Regions from separate parts of the Homo sapiens genome. Here region 2 is linked to region 1. The links are contacts of gene promoters, found by promoter capture Hi-C in blood cells and fetal thymus (Javierre and others, 2016). All regions are on one chromosome and are shown on one strand. The core of a region is centred on a gene start or on the middle of the fragment in contact, and the rest is flanking DNA. Distances in the headings are between cores, read along the strand shown.

Evidence for each region. The method cuts DNA at HindIII sites, captures the fragments that hold promoters and counts their contacts. A CHiCAGO score of 5 or more calls a contact.
Region 2: the fragment with the promoter of BTF3 here is called in contact with the fragment with the promoter of BDP1 in region 1 in 4 of 17 cell types (total CD8 T cells, naive CD4 T cells, fetal thymus and 1 more); the score reaches 6.4 in total CD8 T cells.

What each region holds. Positions count from the first base shown.
Region 1 is chr5:71,451,686-71,458,773 of GRCh38, forward strand. It overlaps BDP1 (BDP1 general transcription factor IIIB subunit), which reads left to right and starts at 3,966. Exons shown (of 39, transcript NM_018429.3): 1 at 3,966-4,404; 2 at 6,894-7,088. The coding sequence starts at 4,193. RefSeq lists enhancers at 2,901-3,827, 3,828-4,753. The HindIII fragment of the contact is 8,261 bases long and covers 1-6,590 here.
Region 2 is chr5:73,494,088-73,501,175 of GRCh38, forward strand. It overlaps BTF3 (basic transcription factor 3), which reads left to right and starts at 4,355. Exons shown (of 6, transcript NM_001037637.2): 1 at 4,355-4,712; 2 at 5,047-5,115. The coding sequence starts at 4,581. BTF3-DT (BTF3 divergent transcript) reads right to left here and starts at 4,233. Exons shown (of 1, transcript NR_186388.1): 1 at 3,466-4,233. RefSeq lists enhancers at 4,190-4,249, 4,280-4,579, 4,343-5,153 and a silencer at 4,790-4,839. The HindIII fragment of the contact is 2,385 bases long and covers 3,526-5,910 here.

The DNA.
Region 1 (7,088 bases), core at 2,716-5,215:
CTATTTTAGAGAAGGTGGAGAAAGTGAAGACTGAGGAGCTCTGGAGATGAACTGTCTGGGTTGAAAGTCCATCTCTACTAATTAGTAGCTGTGTCAACTTGGACAGTATTTCATTATGTTAAAGCGTTCTTACCTGTAAAATGGGGAGGTATGTACCTTCTTCATTAACTGAATTAACGTATGTGAAGTACTAGGTCCCCAGCATATGGTAGAACTCAATATGTTAGCTCTTACTGTCATTATTCTTTCAAATTCAGAGAGCCTCGCACACATCACTATCCTATCCCCACACCCCACCTCTCTTCCTTAATACTGCTAGCCTCTGCTTCCACTTAGTGAAGTAACTTGAAGGGAAAAGATTGACTTTCTGGCACCGTGTTTTGTTTTGGAGACAGTATCTAACTCTGTTGCCCAGACTGGAGTACACTGGCGCAATCTCCGCACACTGCAGCCTCAGCCTCCCAGGTTCAAGCGATTCTTGTGCCTCAGTCTCCCAGTAGCTGGGATTACAGGCGGCTGCCACCCTGCCCCGGCTAATTTTTGTATTTTTCGTAGAGACGGTTTTTTGCCTTGTTGGCCTGGCTGATCTTGAACTCCTGGCCTCGTGTGATCTGTCTGCCTCGGCCTCCCAAAGTGCTGGGATTTCAAGCATGAGATTTCAACCATTCCAACCTCTGGCACAGTTCTTTATAGAGATAAGGTCATCTAAAGAGGGAATGGGGTGGGATTGGAAGGTAAGTGGTAGAGTTTTTTTGTTTGTTTTGTTTTGTTTTTTAGACGGAGTCTCCCTATGTCGTCCAGGCTGGAGTGCAGTGGTGCGATCTCAGCTCACTGCAAGCTCTGCCTCCTGGGTTCACGCCATTCTCCTGCCTCAGCCTCCCAAGTAGCTGGGACTACAGGTACCCGCCACCACGCCCAGCTAGTTTTTTGTATTTTTTTTCGTAGAGATGAGGTTTCACCGTGTTAGCCAGGATGGTCTCGATCTCCTGACTTCATGATCCGCCTGTCTCGGCCTCCCAAAGTGCTGGGATTACTGGCGCAAGCCACCGCGCCCGGCCGGTGAGTAGCAGAGTTGTTTTTGTACGTGCTCTCAATTTAATCTAATTGAACATTTTTCTTTGCAGCTGAAATTTTGCAGTTCTTAAGTTGTAGGGCTACACATGATATACCCCATGTACACAAAATGTGTTGTGTGTGTCTCTCAGAGAAAAGTAGAGATTTAAAAAATTCGTATGATGCCACTAAGAATTTACTCCACAAACTTGTGTAACAAATGTCTTATGACTTTATATTTAATAATAAAATTTAATCTGATTCTGTTCCCATCCCTTTACTGGTGGGAAATTAAATCTTAGTCACTATTTACTTTCTGACCTGTAAAAACTTGGGACAATGCCCTAGTCTCTTAAGTGGAACAGAAGACCATCTGGGGAAAGGCCCTGTGTCTTCAGTTGGTATCAGAATATGCTGTTCAAAGCTGTGTAGACCTGGCAGTGGCTCCAAGATTCCTGAGACATCTTTAGCAGGGTATTCTCTCGAATTCTTGAGCTTCTTTAAATAAAGAAGATAAAACTGAGATACTGTTCCTTTTCCAGAGTATTGCAGGGAGCCCACGGAATCCACAGACCTCCTCTTTTCTCTTCCTTCCTTCCTTCCTTTCTTTCTCTCTCTCTTTTTTTTTTTTTTTTTGAGACAGGGTCTCACTTTGTCACCCAGGCTGTAGTGCTGTGGTGTGATCTTGGCTCACTGCAACTTCCGCCTCCTGGGCTCAAGCAATCCTCCAACCTCAGCCTCCTGAGTAGCTGGGATTACAGGCAGAAGCCACCATGCTCAGCTAATTTTTGTAATTTTGGTAGAGATGAGGTTTCACCATGTTGGCTAGGCTGGTCTTAAACTCCTAGGCTCAAGTGATTCGCCTGCCTCAACCTCCCAAAGTGCTGGGATTACAGGCACGAGCTGTGCCTGGCCTCCAGACCTTCATTTTCTTCATAGTCTTAGAGATATATGTTTTCTCTTCTCTGCTTTCAGTCTTGCCTTCCTACTCTCAAAAGCACTTGCCTCTTTTTTGTTCTCCCTTTAGGTGATCAATTTCTTCAGTCAGTTCAGAATTTTATTCCTTTGACCTTTTGTTATTAATGTATCACCATATTCTTGTAGGATTTTCTTTTCCTTCTAAGAAGAAAGTCAGGCCTTTGTGTTCCCATGAGTCAGGGGATTTGTATCACTGGTTCAAACATTGGCCCAATACCTCCAAGGCCAACCTCAGCTCTGGCTATTTTTCCTCTCATCATAGAGGACTTCCCTAGCCACTCTACTGCCAGCCTCCCTCCCATTACTTTCTATCACATCATCCTGTACATTTCTCTCTTTTTTTTCTTCTTATTATTAAATTTTTGTTTTAAGGACAAGGTTTCACTTTGTCACCCATGCTGGAGGGCAGTGGCACTATCATAGCTCACTGCAGCCTGGACCTCCTGCCTCAGCCTTCCAGGTAGCTGGAGCTAGAGGTGGGAGCCATCACAGCCACCGCATGTAGGTAATTTGTTTTAGGGGTCTCAATATTTTGAGCAGGTTGGTCTGGAAGTCTTGGGCTCAAGAGATCCTCCCACTTCAGTCTCCACAGTAGCTGGGATTATAGGCGTGCCTCGCCATACCCGGCATTCAACCCTTAAATTTATTTCATGACATTTGATATACTTTATTTTATTGCAATTAATTAATTAATTCATTTATTTTAAGACAGAGTCTCACTCATTCTGTTGCCTAGGCTAGAGTGCAGTGGTGCCATCTTGGCTCCCGGCAGCCTCCACCTCCAGGGTTCAAGCCATTCTCCTGTCTCAGCCTCCCATAGCTGGGATTACAGGCTTGCACCACCAGGCCTGGCTCATTTTTGTATTTTTAGTAGAGATGGAGTTTAACCATGTTGGCCAGGCTGGTCTCGAACTCCTGACCTCAAGCAATCTGCCTTGCCTTAGCCTCCTAAAATGCTGGGATTACAGGCATGAGGCACCCACGCCGGGCCTGATACATTTTAAAAATATCTTGTTCATTTCTTTTTTGTATTTTCTCCTCCCAAATCCAGAACGTCTTGTTTACTGCTACCTCCTGAAGCAGATTAAGAACACTCACAATAATTTACAAGGTTTCAACTATAATAATTTTTAAACAGGCTGGAGTGTAGTGGTACGATCTCGGGTGATACATTCATATTAAAAAGTACACAAGGAGGTTGGGCGTGGTGGCTCACGTCTGTAATCCCAGCACTTTGGGAGGCCAAATGGGTGGCTCGCTTGAGCCTAGGAGTTCAAGATCAGCCTAAGCAACATGATGAACCCCGTCTCTACTAAATATACGAGAAAAAAAAAATTAGCCGGGTGTCGTGGCGCGTGCCTGTGGTCCCAGCAACTTGGGAGGCTGTGACGGGAGGATCGCCTGAGCCCGAGAGGTGGAGGCTGCAGTGAGCCAAGATCGCGCAACTGCACACTCCAGCCTAGGCGACAGAGCAAGACCCTGTCTCAAAGGACAAAAACAAAAAAGTACACAAAGGCGTACGGTAAATGGTCTTCCTACCACGACGTGTTTTCCAGAAACACATTCCTCTCCTGGGAGGTAACTATTATCAGTTTCTTCACACCAGCATTTTTAATCTATGTCTACTCAATTTAGAATTTCTAAACCCTTCAGGATCTTCAAAAGACAAAATCGGCCAGCGATTTTAATAGTTCCAGTAAAGGTTTGAGCAGAGAAGTGGACTTTCTTCTGTTCCTCTTTTCAACTACTCCTAAGGACTCCTGGAGAAGAAAGAGCAAATATCTCTGCATCTCAATTTCTGGTCCGCAGGTAACCCAGTCTCAGTAGCTTGGTAGTTACCATGGCTCCCAGTGCTGTGCGTCTGACGTCATTCTGCGGCGCTGGCTGATGGCGCAATCAGTTGCGGCGTCCTGTGAGCGCGGGGATGCTGGGAGGAGGGTGAAATTTAGCCATCGGTGTGTGGCAGGGTCATGAAAAAGCGGCGGCGGCGGGAGAGAGGAGGAGGCGGCGGCGGGGCAGTGAAACTACGGTAGCTGCCCCCTGAGCTGGTGGTGTGGCTTTGTGGGGAGGGCGTAGTTCCTAATCCCCTTTCCGGGCAGCCGCCGGGGCTCGGGGCTGTGAGCGGCCGTGAGGCTGCCTCCCCGGGCCCCCTGCCTCCGCCATGTTCCGCAGGGCACGCCTTAGCGTGAAGCCGAATGTCAGGCCTGGTGTAGGCGCCAGGGGCTCCACAGCTTCCAATCCCCAGCGTGGACGGGAGTCTCCCAGGCCGCCGGATCCTGCCACGGACTCTGCTTCCAAGCCCGCGGAGCCCACAGATGTGCCCACAGTCGATTTCGGTGGAGCGGAGCCCCAAGAAAAGGCTCCTAGGAGCAGGTAAGAGGTTGCAGAGGGAAGAATTTTCATTTGTCCCGCCTCTCCGGGCATGTCACCTGGAAGCTGAGCAAATGAATTTTATCACAGGAGTCCGCTCTCGTTTGCAGTAAGCCTTTCAGTTGAGGCTTGATGAAACCACTCCAAACTGCAGTTTAGTTGTCTGACCTGCAGGGTGTGGCTTGTGTGGATTTTGTCACGGTCTATAGATTCTCCGAGAGGAGACCATGTCTTCAAGTGGTGGTAGGGAGAATCGGGGTATGGCAGTCCTGAAGTGAAGAATATCCACACTATTCATTTGAGAATTTAGGTCACTATAGTTTTCATCCTTCTGGAGTGCTTTGCAGGGAAGTGTTTTTGTCTTTCAATTTATAAAATATTTATTTTTTAAAGGAGAAGATAAGTATTGCTTTGGCTTTACCGATTTATGTCAGTGAGTAAGAGTTCTGGTCACTTAATTGAAGTGTGCCTCTTTAACTATGGTGACCGTGTTTCCTGAATAGAGAAGCATGGCTTTAGCGTCATGTATCATATTTGGATTCAGGACTCTTTTAGTCTACAGGTAAACTTTTCTCAGGCAGAATTTGCTCATCTGCAAAATGGGAATAATATTGCCTACTTGGAGCGTTTTGGTGCAGATTGGAGATAATTCATATTAACTACCTTGCAGGGGATATAGCAGAATAGTTGCCCGCAAAAAGTTACTAGTTTTTTAGAAAGGTGATGGAGTAAATTTAAGACATGTTAGGCTAAGATGGTCTCTGTTTCTATATATATGAGGAAATCAGTAAACAGCCTTGTTAAGTGAAGTGAGATAGTACAAATTCTGTTTATGCTGTGATAGGAAGGTGAAACATTTATTTATTTTTGGAACATCTTCCTCTATTGGCCTGAACTGGTGCTGAGTGTATGGTGTTACGTTGATAGTTCAGTGATGGTTAGTAATTTCCAAGTTTATTACATGAATCTGTTTCAAAATTTCTACACAGAAAGGAGATACCGATACTAGTCGCTGTTACATTAATAAAGTTCTCAGAGATTTCGTTAATTATGTGTGAGTGCGTGATGGTTGATAATTTAATAAATTGCCCAAAGATTGTAGTTTTGAGATATTTATGGTCAAGGATATTTAATTTTTTTTTTTGAGTTGACATTTACGTTTGGGGAATATAATTTGTTTTTTAGTCACTTTTTTTGCCATTACTGACTCTGGGAAAGTGGTTTTTTTTTTTTTTTTTAATTAGTTTTTTTTTTAGATGGAGTCTTGCTCTGTCGCCCAGGCTGAAGTGCAGTGGTACGGCTCACTGCAACCTCCACCTCCCGGGTTCTTGCAATTCTCCTGTCTCAGGCTCCCAAGTATCTGGGACTACAGGCGTGCCCCACCACGCCCAACTAATTTTTGTATTTTCAGTAGAGACAGGGTTTCACCATGTTGGCCAGGCTGGACTCGAACTCCTGACCTCAAGTGATCCACCTGCCTCAGCCCAAAGTGCTGGGGTTACAGGTGTGAGCCACCGTGCCCAGCCTCTTTTTATTTTTTTGTGGGTCTTTGCTAGTTGTAAAACTCTATAGGATATATATTCTGTCATTATGCATTCAACATAATTGGGTGAAATGCAGATAATGCATGTATCCATAACAGCTAAGATACGAATTTAAATTGAAGTCTTCCTGGAAAGGTTATTCTATAAGTTAAGGCATTTTCTAATTTTTTATAAGTAATTATAAAATAGGAAAAAAGTAGACTGTTTTTAATTATTGACTTATACCACCTCTTTTCTTGACTTAAGTTGCATTTATAGACCATTCCTGAAATACTTATATCTGAGGTATACCATACCTAATATGCAATTTGGGGTGACTGAGTACTTTTTTTGACTGAAGTTTATTCTGATGGCTGTATAAGTAGAGTTGTACCTGACAAAAGATAAATGATTTCTGCCTCAAAGGGAATTGGGTTTGGCTACTGTAACTAAATGTTTTTCTTCAAATACTGCAATACAGATATTTCAGAGGTTTGGAGTTTTGCATATTTGATTTGACTGACCTCGGGTTGATAAGTAAAGTAAAATGCCGGTAGTTTAGACCAGTTTAAAATGTCAGAGTGAATTAAAATTTTTTTAAATTTTATATAGAAATTAATTATAAATTATTACTTTGTTACTTAGTAATTCAAATTAGGTTGACTAAGCTTTGTTCTGTAAGTTGGTTATTTGTTTTGAGGGGGGTAAGCCTATAATTATGTGCTGTAATGTGCCTAGGGACTTTATGTTTGAAAAAGATTAAGAGTCTATTAGAATTTACGTATATTTAAAAGATTTACTAAACAAATTTTTTTGTAACCTGTCATAATTATCATAAATCTCAAGTTACTAATTTTTTTTTTTTAATTACGAGATTGCAGTTTTGGATTTTCACCAGACTAGGTTTTAAAACTAGCATGTGTAACAGAAGATTCATGTGCCCTCTTTTTTCTTTTTTAATTTCAACAGTACTGAAAAGACTGGTGGTGACAATGATGTTGAAGAATCCAGTAGATCTTCCTCTACTGTTTCACAGAGAAGAAAGCGAATATCAAGTACTTCTAGCCTGGTTAAGTCTAGTGTCAGTGTTCCTTCAGAATCTCATCCCTTATCTACAATTAATCAAGAGGCTCCACAGCCAACTGCCACTTCAACAAAAGAGAA
Region 2 (7,088 bases), core at 3,105-5,604, 2.0 Mb after region 1:
TATTTTTAGTAGAGACAGGGTTTCACCATGTTGCCAGGCTGGTCTCAAACTCCTGACCTCAAGTGATCCACCCACCTCGGCTCCCAAAGTGCTGGGATTACAGGTGTGAGCTACACCCAGCATGGAATAACCACTATTCTTTTATAATTAATTCCCTTCCTCTTCAGTTTCATTACCTAAGCATGCACCCCTAGACACTATTGTTTTGCCTGCTTTCTTTTGGGTTTTTTGTTTGTTTGATATGTCTCTTAGATTTCTCTTAATACAAAGATCCCCTTACTCTTTTTTTTTTTTTTTTTCGTTCCCTTGGAGTTTATTTGTCCTCTCATTTCCTATAATCTGAATTTTGTCTTTTGTATATTCTGTAAATCGACAACTAGATCAACTCAGGGTCAAAAATTTATGTTTCTATTTAACAAGAGTATGATGGATTTAACACACCAGGAGAAGACATTTGCAATGACTAAAATAGGAAAGAGATTAAGAATAAAAACTATAACATCCGGGAATCCATCTATTAAAGAATGCACATGACCTTCAGAAGGTTTTTAAAACACTGCTAAAATACATAAAAGATTTGAAAAAATAGATGCACTATGTTTATGGAGGTGAAATTTTGGGTAGGTAAGGTAGATTGGTACTCAGATCAATTCCAATTTCTTTCAAGTTTGCCTCCTTGTACTATAAATTTGGAAAGTTAAAAACTATATTTCCCAGATTTCCTTGCAGTTACCATCCTAGAAGTGAATTATTTTTGCCAACTAAGTACATTTAAGTAAGGTTTAGAAAGTGGAAGTGAGGCTAAAGCCTTTTTCCTGCTGCTTTGTTTTTGCTGGCAAGCATGCTCATGAGATATATTTTTTGCAGCAGCTTTCCAGAGCTCAGTCATTAGCTTTGTGGGTATTGAGTAGTACTTACTACAGTTATCTTCTTGATTCCTGAATTGTAGCTACAGTGGTGCATTCTTAACATCAATAATTCCAGTTGTAGGGTCCTGATTCTCTATCCTCCTAATGGGTGAAAACAGTTGCAGCAGGTCCTATGACAGCCCAGTTCTGGAGTGCAGGTTGAGTATCTGTTATGTGAAATGCTGGGAACCAGAAATTTTTCAGACTTGGGATTTTTTTTTGGAATATTTGCATTATGTACATACTGGTTGAGCAGCCCTAATCTGAAAATCTGTCATCTGAAATGCTCAATGAGCATTTCCTTTGAGCATGATGCTTGTGTTCAAAAAGCTTGGGATTTTGGAGCATTTGGGATTTAAAATTTTTGGATTAGGGATACTAAATCTGTATTATCTTAGGACTCACTTCTGACAGCCCAGGCTAAAGCCCACTCCTCCAGTCCTTCAAACTTTGTAAAGCACCAATTCCCTATATTAAATCCCTGTGTATTAAAAATAGCCAGATTTCCTACAAGTGAATGCAGAGGCATACAATTAGAAAATATATAAGTTTCCCAAATCGATCTATACAACCAATCCTAATCAAAATTTCAAAATGAAACAAAACCTAAAATGTACATAGAATATCTGCAAATCTGTCAGTCTCAAAAGTGAAAAAGGGAAATAGCCCTACCACCTATTAAGAATATTGAGTTGGCCAGGTATGGTGGCTCATGCCTGCAATCCCAGGCAGATCGCTTGAGGTCAGGAGTTTGAGACCAGCCTGGCCAACATGGTGAAACATGTAATAAAAAATACAAAAATTAGCTGGGTGTGGTGGTGGGCACCTGTAATCCCAGCTACTCAGGACACTGAGGCATGAGAATCGCTTGAACCCGGGAGGTGGAGGTTGCAGTGAGCCGAGTGCTCTGCACTCCAGCCTGGGCAACAGGATGAGACTAAAAAAAAAAAAAAAGAAGAAAAAAGAAAGAAAGAAATAAGCATTATATAAAGTGGATATTTTGGCTTTTGCTGAAGCTGACTCAAATCCAGCTGAGAGATGAAAACAATTCATGGACTTTGATTAGGCTATAAACTAGAAACCAAGGAGGGCAAACAGGGTTCACCTTTCTTGCCTTCTCTATTGACAGATACAATCTTGAGTGCTGAGTAAATGATTCTTAGGCTCCTTGAAGCCCAGCAGGAAAGCGTGGGAGCCAATTACCCACATTTGCCATAGACATTGGGAGCATACTGGAAATGGCTCCCACATTAGCACAAGTTACTCTTTTGGCATCCTTGAGCTAAGATTGCAATGTAATAACTTTTTTTGAAACAAAAAAATCCCATATTTTTGAAAAGTCTAGTATATAATTATTTTATTAGAAGAATCAGAATTTCCTGACTACTCATAAAACCAGCAGAAGCAGCTGGAGTCAAAAATCAAAATTTTGGCCAGGTATCGTGGCTCATGCCTGTACTACCAGCACTTTGGGAGGCCCAGATGGGAGGATGGCTTGATCCCAGGAGTTTGAGACCAGCCTGGGCAACATAGCAAGACCTCCATCTCTAAATAGAAAAGCACAAAAACCAAACCAAAACAGAACGTAAAAAGAAAATCAAAATTTTCTTTTTTACTATTAAGTAATCTTTTATATTTTCAACACGCAGCAAACTTTTAAATTCATGAAAGAACAGGAGAAAAAAGTAGGAACGAGGGGAAAATTAAAAAGTCATAAGCCAGGGAAAGTGGTGCACACCTGTAGTTTCAGCTTCTCAAGTGGCTGAGACTGAAGGATCCTTTGAGCGCAGGAGTTTGAGCCCAGCCTAAGCAACAAAGTGAGACCCCATCTCTTTTAATTTTTTTAAAGTTTTATATTTTTTAAAAAAATTATAAAAATAAAATTAGCAGCATCCCTGGTTTCAAAAAGTAGAAATAAATAAATAAATAAAAGTAGCTCACAATATTTCCTGAAAACAGGTGTATTAAAAGGGCAGAGGAGAGGGAAGGCAAAGAAAAAGAAAAAAAAGGTGGCAGGTTACATACATACAATCTTGTCTCTATAAAAGCTCAGAAAACATCACGTGACTAGGAAGTTTCAAATGCCTCCAATATAACATGGAGGAGAGGAAAAAAACTGTTCCTGGACAAAGATACACATTTCTTCCAAAAGGGGGAGTCTTTCTATATATTTTGTAATATCTCCAGAGCACAGCATAATGTTGGTACTGCCATTTTGGCCTTTGTCATTAGGAAGGTAACCCACATAAGCCTAACTACAAACACCCTTACCTGTACTAAAACTTCACTCATATTTAACTGAAGCAACATTGTTTTTTGTAAATATAACTGTAACAATTATTCTAAAAGGCAATACAGCTGTCCTCACCAGTTATGTTCTTGAGACATCAGTTGCAACAAACTTATATGTAAAAAGTATTCAAAAAGTTTAAACATTGATCTTAACTGGAGAGGGGTCTGCACTTGAACAAGTTTTCTTGCTACACACATTGCATTCTAAGATTTCGGACTCACTTTTGAATATGCAAAGACATTTCATGGTTAAGACCACAAAAAGGCTGATCAGAGAACATTTTTATTTAAATTGCCATTTTAAATATCAGTCGTTTTATCTTAAAGCTTGTCCTGGGTTTAACAAAGTTTAACTCACATCCACGCGTTGTCTCTCCAAACACAGCAGGCAGAAATTCTCCTTTGATTGGATTAAGATAGATAAAGTCTGCTTAACCGTGAATCGCTAATTGTCAAATCCATGCCAATTCGGTACCTAGGAGTCAATTTTTTTGCCTGATAAACAAGATAATTGTGTGGACCGTTTTAAGGTGGTTAGTCATCTGCTAAATTGGCTGAAATGCGGATTACCCAGTTCCTTCGTCGTACAGAGTTGCATTCTGAGGAGTGGGGCTCGGGGATACAGCCCCCAGAAATTCTGAACCTCGGTCCCGCAATCTACCACACCACCTAACCTTGGAAGGCCAAACTAACTTCACTATTTTTGACAAAATGCTTTGGTAATGGCTCATTCGGGCCGAGAGGGAAATTCTGCAATTCTCCAACCCACACCTCCAGCAAGGGGAGAGCTGCTTGAGTGGTGAGCACAAGCTGGGCACCTCCGGCGTCTCCAGGAAACGTGAATAGGCCCTTTCTTCGGAGGGCACAGAACTTCAGGATCAGGGCCCAATGGAGACTGAGCGGACTTAACCCTAACTGTGCACAGGACCGCGCTCTCCGACCCCTTTGTGGCCTCTCCCAGAGGTACGGGCTGCGCCCCAAGCCAGCAGTCTCTCGTAGGGCCTACAGCCGGCAGCCGCTGGAGCAGGAGGAGGAGAATAGGGACTCGCTGGACCATCACAAACGCTGTCGCGCGTGCGCAGGGAGGAACCGAGTTCGCGGCGAAGTCAGTTTCCTGACTCTTGAAGGAAGTGGCCTTGTGTCACTTCCGGCCTCCCTTTAGCTGCCATCTTGCGTCCCCGCGTGTGTGCGCCTAATCTCAGGTGGTCCACCCGAGACCCCTTGAGCACCAACCCTAGTCCCCCGCGCGGCCCCTTATTCGCTCCGACAAGGTACAAAAAGGCTCTGGACGGCGGCGTGGTAGGAGGACGGGAGCGGGGGCGGGAAGTTCCCTGAAGGAGCGAGACAGGGAGGGACAGGGCAGAGGAGGAGAGGAAGGCGATGCGACGGACAGGCGCACCCGCTCAGGCTGACTCTCGGGGGCGAGGTCGAGCCAGGGGCGGCTGCCCTGGGGGCGAGGCGACGCTGTCTCAACCTCCACCTCGCGGCGGAACCCGAGGACAGGAGCCTCAGGTACCGCGAGGCTTGCGGAGAGTGGCCGGGCCGGGCAGGCCCTGGCTAGGCCGAGGCCAGGCCAGGGCCAGGGGTGGGGGGTGCTGGCCAGGCGTGGGGTAGAGCCTTTCATCCGGGCCTGCCAAGAGCGGGGAGCTGTGGGGGAGTGGTGGGGAGGCGGGTGCTCTTTGGGCTCCCTGGAAACCCAAATTTGGAGCTTTGCGGGGTGGATTTGGGATCCAGGTTTCGGCCTGTGTAGGACGTTTATTTTCCTGCTGGTATCTTGGGAAATAACGAGCATGGAATGCTAGAGTGAGCTAAACCTATCCTTGCTGAGGATTTCCTCTTTTTCTAGATGAAAGAAACAATCATGAACCAGGAAAAACTCGCCAAACTGCAGGCACAAGTGCGCATTGGTGGGAAAGTAAGTTTTAATAGTTCGGGTTTGTGGGTTTTTTTTTTAAGGTTTAGGTATTTTAAAAAACATATTCCTTTTGCGCTTCTTATATTATCGGTGACAAACTTTGCCTATCGAGGGAAATTCACGGAGCTAGCAAATCTCGAGGAGCGGGGGAGACGAGGGTTGGAGACACATCAGTGAGACGAGCTAAAAACATCGCCTTTGTGTAAACATGTTTGTGTTTTCAGTGTTACAGAGTGTAAGTAGAACACAAAAGTGTTTCCTAATTTAATTAGTAAGGAAAATGTGTCATTTCAGTTAGATCGTTGTGCACATCATACCCTTGACTTGTTTTGGCCTGAGTTTTCTAAAGTCAGTGCTTGTTTGTCTCTCTTGTAAATTGAGACCTTTCTGTACTGCTTTCTGAACTAAATATTCTTTAGGGTAGTTGCATATTTCAAGGGTATTTGAAGATACGGGTACATTTTGGAGTTTAAGAGCAGTGACTATTAGATTTGAAAATATAACCCAAGTAGGTATCTTTCCTGTTCTGACTTTGTATTACTGTAAAAATGAGGGAATTAAAGTGACTGATTTTTAAATGATCAGTTTTTGATTAATTGTTTTTTTCCTGGTGGATACTGATTCACATCAAGGGGATTCTTTTTTGAAGCTGATTTTTAGATTGTCCTGTAATTAATAAGAAGTCCACTGTAGACAGAGGTCTACCTAGTTTGTATTGTTAGCACATTCTTAGTATTTAACAAGGTGTGGTAGCTTGTTGAAACAGAGCATGTCTTTACTTGGTAAAACTTGTAAAGCTTCCATGGTACATGTTTATTACCTTTTAGTTTTTCCCAACTTTAAGCGTTTAACTTAGAGTTAGCTGTGAGATAGCCAGAAGTTGCACTTAGACTTAAATAATAATATACAGCTTTGTTAAATTACTGAACTTTGCCAGCGGTGAATTTATCCTGATTTTTTTTTACTTTTTATTTTTGTTAACGTTAGCCATCTTCAGGATCCACACCCACACATTTAACAACATTAGATGTTTCTTGTCCTCTTTAATCAATTGTTATCAGACTGTGGCCTTCAAGTGCCAGCAAAACTCAAATTTTTTGTGTCTCAGTGTTTGGATGCTCTTATATTGGTGTTTTTAACCACTCTTACTTTCAGTACAGTTTCAGAAGGAGTAATTTGAATAATGTGCTTATGTGCAGTCTTTTTGTTGTTACTCTCATCATTAGGCTTTAACTTTGGGAGACATCATTTTAGGGTAAAGGAAATCTTGAGATTTGCTAGGATATTTAAAGCTGATAACAAGATTAAATTTTGTGTCCTAACATCTTAATACTCGTTTAGCTAATAATACAAGAAGTATTTCTGTAGTCACAATATGGAAACATTTCTACACTGTTTAAGAAACGTACTTATTATGGGATGTGAAATTAGGTGAGTTAATTTTGCTTTAGAGAAAACTGCAGGTGTTAGGTGCTCTTAGGTAAATGTTACAAAAGCCCTTTATTTTCATATCTAATCACAGCATTAATAATAATTATTTAAGTGAAAATTGAACTCTACATATGTGAAGTGTATGAAACCTCTAGAAAGTATGCTGGGTTTGTCTTTACAATCTTAGAAATTCCTTTGAGTTTCTTAGAGAAGATTTCTTTGGAAACCAGATACATACATGACCATTTCAAAGTGATTTTTGTACTTAATAGTTTGGAGAGGTTAGTAACCAGTACTTTTTTTTTTTTTTTGTAGCCATAGATATTTTCTTCAGTTAAATAACAAGATTTATTTAAGCCTTTACTATGTTGGATCCTGAGAATATAAAATTTTAAGAAGTTTAAAGTCCCTAGGTGGGCTTTAAGCCTAGCAGTGGCGATAATTGTCTTTTCTTAAAAAAATCTTCTTTCACAGTGTAATATACATAGTACAATAGTAGAAGCATTTTCAAAATCTAGAGATGGGAATGATTTGGCATAGGG